2 separate regions of the Homo sapiens genome follow, and region 1 is linked to region 2. The links are contacts of gene promoters, found by promoter capture Hi-C in blood cells and fetal thymus (Javierre and others, 2016). All regions are on one chromosome and are shown on one strand. Each heading gives the region's core, a stretch centred on a gene start or on the middle of the fragment in contact. The rest is flanking DNA. Distances are from core to core; before and after follow the strand shown. Region 1 has its middle 83 kb from the start of NKAIN2. Region 2 holds the start of TRDN-AS1 (TRDN antisense RNA 1).

Region 1 (3,166 bases), core at 580-3,079, 280 kb before region 2:
GTAGCAGCAGCCCTAAATCCTCATGAAGACCAGAATCAATTACCCCTGCTAGTATGGGAGCTCATTTATCTGCTCATGCTCTAACTGCATGAGGGGTACAAAATGACCAGGCAGCAGACATATTTTTATATCTAGAGGGACTGTAACTATGTATCCTTGCATAATAATACATGCTCTGGGAAACAGAAACTCTAGACTGGCAAAGCCTAAACCTGTGGGGACAGGAAACAAAAATTCCCTAAGTAAGTCTTTAGGAATAAGTGATGATGACCAGGACCACTCCTACATCCCCCTTTGATTACTAAACCCATGTTCTCTACCTATTGTGGATCAACGCCATAAAATGACAATTGGTATAAAATATATACCACATGGGGAGTGGTAGCACCCCATGCTTGTAGGGGATAGCATCTCCAAGCTGGCACCTCAGCTGTATCTATAAGAGGCTATTTCATTGCTCTCTTAGGCTGGTGGTTTCCAACTGTGCATTATGTGGTAGGACTAATTGATTTGATGGTTATATTTCTTTTTTAAGGTGAAGTTGATCCCTTGGTCTGAGGTGATAGTATTATGTAGGATATTAATATGTAGGATATTATATTAGGAGATGAAAACTCTGTGAAACCTTGGTAGTAGTGCTTGCTGAATCACTGTGAGGAAGAAAGGTGAACACATATCCAGAAGGTATATTAATTTTGATCACAAAAAAATGTTGCCCTTTTGAGGGTAGAAGGGGTTCAATGTCATCATTTATCCACCAAATGTCTGATTAGTTTCCTTGTGGGTGGGTACTATACTGGGGACTTAGCATTGGTCTCTCTCTGTTCCTGACAGGTTGGACATATTAACAGGAGGAAAAGTAGATTAGCCTTAGTGAGGGGGAGCCTATGCTGGTGGGCTCGTGCATAGCTTCACTCTCTATCACCATGGCTACTCCATTCATGACCCAAATGCCAAAGCCCTAAGGTGGCTACAGTGACTGGATGTTTAATTCTGTTGGTATAGGGGCTTCTTTCTGGTGTATATTAATGTGTTTTATACAAATATCTCACTTTTGCAGCTACTCCTGCAGCTTCATCCCCATGCCTCTAATCCTTAACTTGATTTTGCAGTTTTACGGAAGGAATTTCCTGAAATTCCTTCCAGGATTTGACTAACTCGGATTAGTCAGAAAAAAAAAATAAAAATAAAAATAAATAAATTACTTGAAAGACACAAACTACCAAAGCTTACTCAAGAAGAAAGGGATAACTCAAATAGTCCTACATTTACTAAATAAGTAAATTTTTTAGTTAGAAAACCTGTCAAAAAAAGCTCTAGGCATAAGTGGCTTCTCTTGTGAATTAGGCCAAATGTTTAAGAGAGAAAACATACCAATTTTACTAAAAACTCTTCCAGAAAATTGAAGAAGAAAGAATACTTTCCAACTTATTCTATGAAGTCAGTATTTCCCTGAGACCAAAACTGGACAAAAATATTACAAAATAAAATTTCAAATTACTGTCATTCAGGGACATAGATAGAAATATTCTAAACAATATTTTAGCAAATATAATTTAACTATGCAGAAAATAAAGTTTATGATCAAGTGTGTTTATCATAGGAATGTGAAGTGTTTAAAATAAAAAAATATCAGTGTAATTTGCTACATTTAAAAACTAAAACGAAACAAAATAAAAGCCCAATAGATAGTGACAATTCATTCCATAAAATCAAACAGTCATTCCAGGGGAAAACCCTCAGCAAACTAAGTGTAGAAGATAAATTCCTCAACCTGTTAAGGAATATTTACAAAAATCTTACAATGAACGTCACACATAATAGTGAAAAACGGAATGCTTACTCTCAAAATCAGAAAGAAAGATGAGGAGTTCCACACTCAACACTTTGGCTCAATATTGTACTAGAAGTAATGGCCAATGCAATTAGTTAAAAAAAGAGAAAGAGAGATAAAAGGCATCTAGTCTGAACAAGAATCTAACAAAAGTCTTTATTTACAAACGACATAATTGAAGCAGGATATTTCCCTGACCTTTCGTGGGACTTGTGACAGGGGTGACTTGTTTACCCAGCCTGCAGTTTTCAATTCCTTGCGGGAGGGAGTACACAAGTGAACGGGGCAGGAGCTGGAGTGTGGGAATTTTGGAAGCAGCCAGCCACTATGGCAGGGGCAAACTCCACTCACCTGCACCTGATGCATTCCACCACTTGCAGGAGGGAGTGTGCAGGTGAGCAGGTGCAGGAGCTGAGGAGAGCACTTTTGGGTGCAAGCAGGAGCAAAACTCCATGCGGACCCACAACCTCTGAAGCCACAGAAGAAGTGTTACAGTGCTCTTTTAGCTCTGCCATTCTGCTGATGACTTAAGTGTTAACTTAAGTGTTAAGTGGGCCTCTGTCTTTTATATTGGCACTTGTGACTTCCAAGCTTTTGTCCGGTGTCCAGGAGAAATAAGGTTGGATGAACAAATTGAAGGATGGTAAATGTGGGGGATTTTATTTCTGATGAAAGTGGCTAATAGCCAGAAGGAGAGCTGACAAGGAGATGGGGTGAGAAGGTAATCTTCTCCTGAATTCCAGCCATCTCCGGCTGGGTTCTTCTCCGAAGTTACACCATCATGCTGGCCCTCTGAGATCAAGCTGCTTCTCTCTGACATCCAGCCATAGTCTCTGATGTCAAGCTACTTCTCCTCTCTCTGCCTGCTGAGTATAGGGTTTTCATAGCCACAGGATGGGGCGGGGTGGGGCCAGGGCCATGGGTAGTTTTGGAAAAAGCAATATTTGGGTGGGAAAACAGGGAATAAGTTCCCATTTCAGGCCATGGTTTCAGGCTTGAGGGTGGGGTTTTGCCAGGGACCCACCGCTGTCTGCCTAGAATTTCTCTACCTCCTGTCCTGATCATAATTGTCTATGTGGAAATCTAATGAATGTGTTAAAATGCTACTAGAATTAGTAAATGAATTTAACAAAATTGTACAATATAGGATCAATATATAAATGTTAAATGTATTTCTACAAACTAGCAATAAAAATTGATAATTAAAATTTATAACACAAGACCATTTGTAATATCATCAAATACATAAAATTCTTAGAAATATTTGAAAAGAAATTTGAAACACCTATTCACTGAAAACCACAAAAAGTTGAGAAAAATTAAAGGGAACCT
Region 2 (3,340 bases), core at 471-2,970:
GTGTGTTCAAAGTCAGGTAGACAGAAAGGGAAGAGTACTCTTGGCTGTTGAGGAAGAAAAAGTCAGGGGCAAGGAAGTTTTCATAAAAGAAACATGGGTTATTTTTATATCCAAGTAGGATATAATCAAATTGTTATGTTTTTATAAGTGAAAAATTTAATTCCATTGCTACCAAATCACCTATATAACAGAGACAATAGTGCTTGAGGAAATGTAGAATCTTGAGAAGTTGACATTTTAAATGAAATTCAGCATGAATAAAGTAAGTCTCATAATGACAGCTTAAAGGTCTAATTCATAAAAATGTTATTAAAGGACATTAATCTGCATTTTGTGGACTTCTGCTCTTATTCATGACTCTCACAGTGTATGACTGTAATCACAAGCAGAGTGTATAATAGGAGCATTAATTCAATTTGGACGAAGACAAGAATACTGTATCACCACAATAAAATTCCAGCTATATTAATTTGAAGGGTAGAATTTGTTGCACAAGAGCATTGTCTAAAAGAAAATTGAAAAATAAATGAATGCCTTCCATATTCTGGGTTCAAATATCTACTTTCTTTGTGAAGTTCGGTGTAAGATTGACTAATTGGCACAAGCTTTTTAATGAAATATTTATTCATCAACCTTATGAAACTTGGAGACTTGGATACTGAGTTCTGATCTTATGGTTAGTATGGCATTAGTGTTTAGCTTGAGCTTAGAAATATTTACAAGTCATTTGTATTTTAATTAACCCCTTTGCTGATACATGACATCAGAGGTGATGCTTAGCAAATGGCTATTCAATTGTCTGGCATATACATTTATTTAGAGAAGATGTAAAATTCACTACTACATAAAATTTCTCCCAGAGAAGCTGAAAGTAGTGATACTTGAAAGTATCTTCATTCAGAATTTTAAATATGATCTACATGTTTAATATGCATAAACCTTTAGAAAAGAAGAAGTGGAAATCAATTGGTTTATTTCTATCTCTGAAACTATCAAAATTTGACTTCTTGACTTTCTACTTCTGATTGGATGAGCTGTAATAGTATGCTGTAGACACTTTTAGACAAAGTGTGAATACATTTTTCCCTGAGACATTAGATTATCTCTAGAAATCATGAAAGGGGTTCTTTATAAATTATATGTCTAACATTGAAAGAAAGTGTTGTCTTTGATCTTGTAGGTAAAAAAGCTCTATACCTATGGGAATGAGTTAATTCCTCTATTTAATAAGATGCAGTCATTAGTAGACAACTTAAGGATTCATTCTAGAACTACATATTGAATTTCTTTAGCATAATAATGATCTTATAATAGTTCTGGGTAACGGAAGTCTTTGAATGTACCTGTACCTGAGATGAGAGACAACTGACAAAGAGAAAGGAATTTCAAATATAAGGTAAATAGCACTGCTAATTGAAGATAAAAATCAGTACATTTACAACATTAACCGTAGCTATTATTGTCCCAAATCTAAAACCACTGAACATTCAATTTCAACAACTATGTATTAGTACAGGACTTTGTTATCTAAAATGATTATGCTTACCAGAAAAGTGTCCAGGGATGTCCACCTGCTATGTGGCTATGCCTGGGCAGCACGTGAATTCTCTGTCTTTGCTCCCTCAGACCAAGGCTGTCTCAGATTTATGAAACAGGGCTCTTCCACGAAGTTTAGAAGTACCACAAACAGTTTGATGTGGCATCCAGACTTACTGCAACCTCTGGGTGCAAAGATTGAACAGCTTTGTTGATACAACCACTCAGAAAGGACCGTGGAAGTTATGTTTCCAACACACTGCCAGACACTTGTCATCAGGCTTAAATGCCTGTTGGCAAGAGCCAGATATGAAAAACAGCTACATCAAAAGATACCTTTTTAATGGTCTAATATATTATTTCTAATGAAATTAAATGTATAAAAGAAAACAAATATTAATTCTTCTAGTTTATCTGCAGTATATTTTCCAAGAAATATATTTTAATTTTATATATCAATACTTTTAGGCACTAGATAAACAATTGTTTGGTTCAGAAAGTTCAAACTATCACATTCATTATTTGTAAACAGTATTAGCAGTCTACAACGTTACACATTTACTGTGAGCCAGGCACTTTACACAGTGTTTTGTAAACATTAACTTTGAGGGAGGTATTATTATTTGATAAATGAGGAAAATAAGACTTAGTGGGATTAAATTACTTGCTCAGTCACAAAGCTAGCTGGAGGCAGAACTGACTTAACAAAAATCCTTCATTTCAACCTTGGTTTTGCTTTCATACTAAATTTCCCTAAAGGAAATATTTTAAATGTATTCTCTAGAAAAAGAAGGGGAAAAGAAGAAGGCTGAGAAGAAAGTTACTTCTGAAACAAAAAAGAAAGGTAGGAAATTTAAAAGCCATGTACCACATAAATCAATTAGTGTCCATGCATAATACTACTGGTAAATCTATTATTTTCTAGGAAAGAAATTCCCTTAATAAATGCATTGTCATTGTTATTAGTGAACACTCTTAACATGTCTAGATATTCCAAATAAAATTAAAATTGTCAATTTTTAAAAAGAGAATTCAATCCTAAACACTTTTTGAAAATTACTACTGTGATTATTTTTTCTTTCTTAAGAGCAGCTGCTTAATTCTCTCTAATTCACTACTTTACTTTAACTATATATGTGAATATGATGGTTACTATTTAACTAATTCAGTCTAATTTTAAAAGTCATTTTATGTAGAGGGCAGAAAATACTTGATTGGTTTGTTTTACACATATATATATATTTTAATTGGTTGTTTTCAAATAATTTATCTGATGTCCCAAGTGAACTTCAGAGATTTCAGAACTTTTGACATGGTTCTGGTGACCTCATAGCTCAGAGAACATTCAATATATTCTTTTCAATATATGTTAGGAAAGCTGTTAAATAATACCATAATTAATAATGCCATTTAATGTTTTCACTGTTATTAAATAATTTTTGCCTTTGGCAAAAAAAAAAAAGTTCTGTTTCCTGAAGAGAAATTATACCTAAGCCACTAGTCTGTTATGAAGGTGCTACCTTATTCATATTTGACATGACTTATGGCTGATTTAAGATTTCTCTATACAAGATAAATTAGATGCCTCACTGGTAGTCATGCATGCCCTGAAATATTTGCAAGTTAAACAGGTAAAGGCTTATAACTTTCTTATTTTACCAGCAGAAAAAGAAGATATCAAAAAGAAAAGTGAGAAGGAAACTGCCATTGATGTGGAAAAAAAAGGTATTGCACTTTCTTTGTTTCCTTAGATGGATTACGTTCAGGATGTTTGCTTCATGAAAGACTCCTCATGCAACATACA

Evidence for each region. The method cuts DNA at HindIII sites, captures the fragments that hold promoters and counts their contacts. A CHiCAGO score of 5 or more calls a contact.
Region 1: a fragment that was not itself captured here is called in contact with the fragment with the promoter of TRDN-AS1 in region 2 in 2 of 17 cell types (erythroblasts and endothelial precursors); the score reaches 5.7 in erythroblasts.

Annotation. Positions count from the first base shown.
Region 1 is chr6:123,718,828-123,721,993 of GRCh38, reverse strand. No RefSeq gene overlaps it. Among named protein-coding and RNA genes, the nearest start is that of NKAIN2, 83 kb to the left of the region's middle. The HindIII fragment of the contact is 1,197 bases long and covers 1,231-2,427 here.
Region 2 is chr6:123,437,984-123,441,323 of GRCh38, reverse strand. TRDN-AS1 (TRDN antisense RNA 1) reads right to left here and starts at 1,720. Exons shown (of 3, transcript NR_110844.1): 1 at 1,547-1,720. It overlaps TRDN (triadin), which reads left to right. Exons shown (of 41, transcript NM_006073.4): 11 at 2,321-2,380; 12 at 3,202-3,261. The HindIII fragment of the contact is 3,987 bases long and covers 608-3,340 here.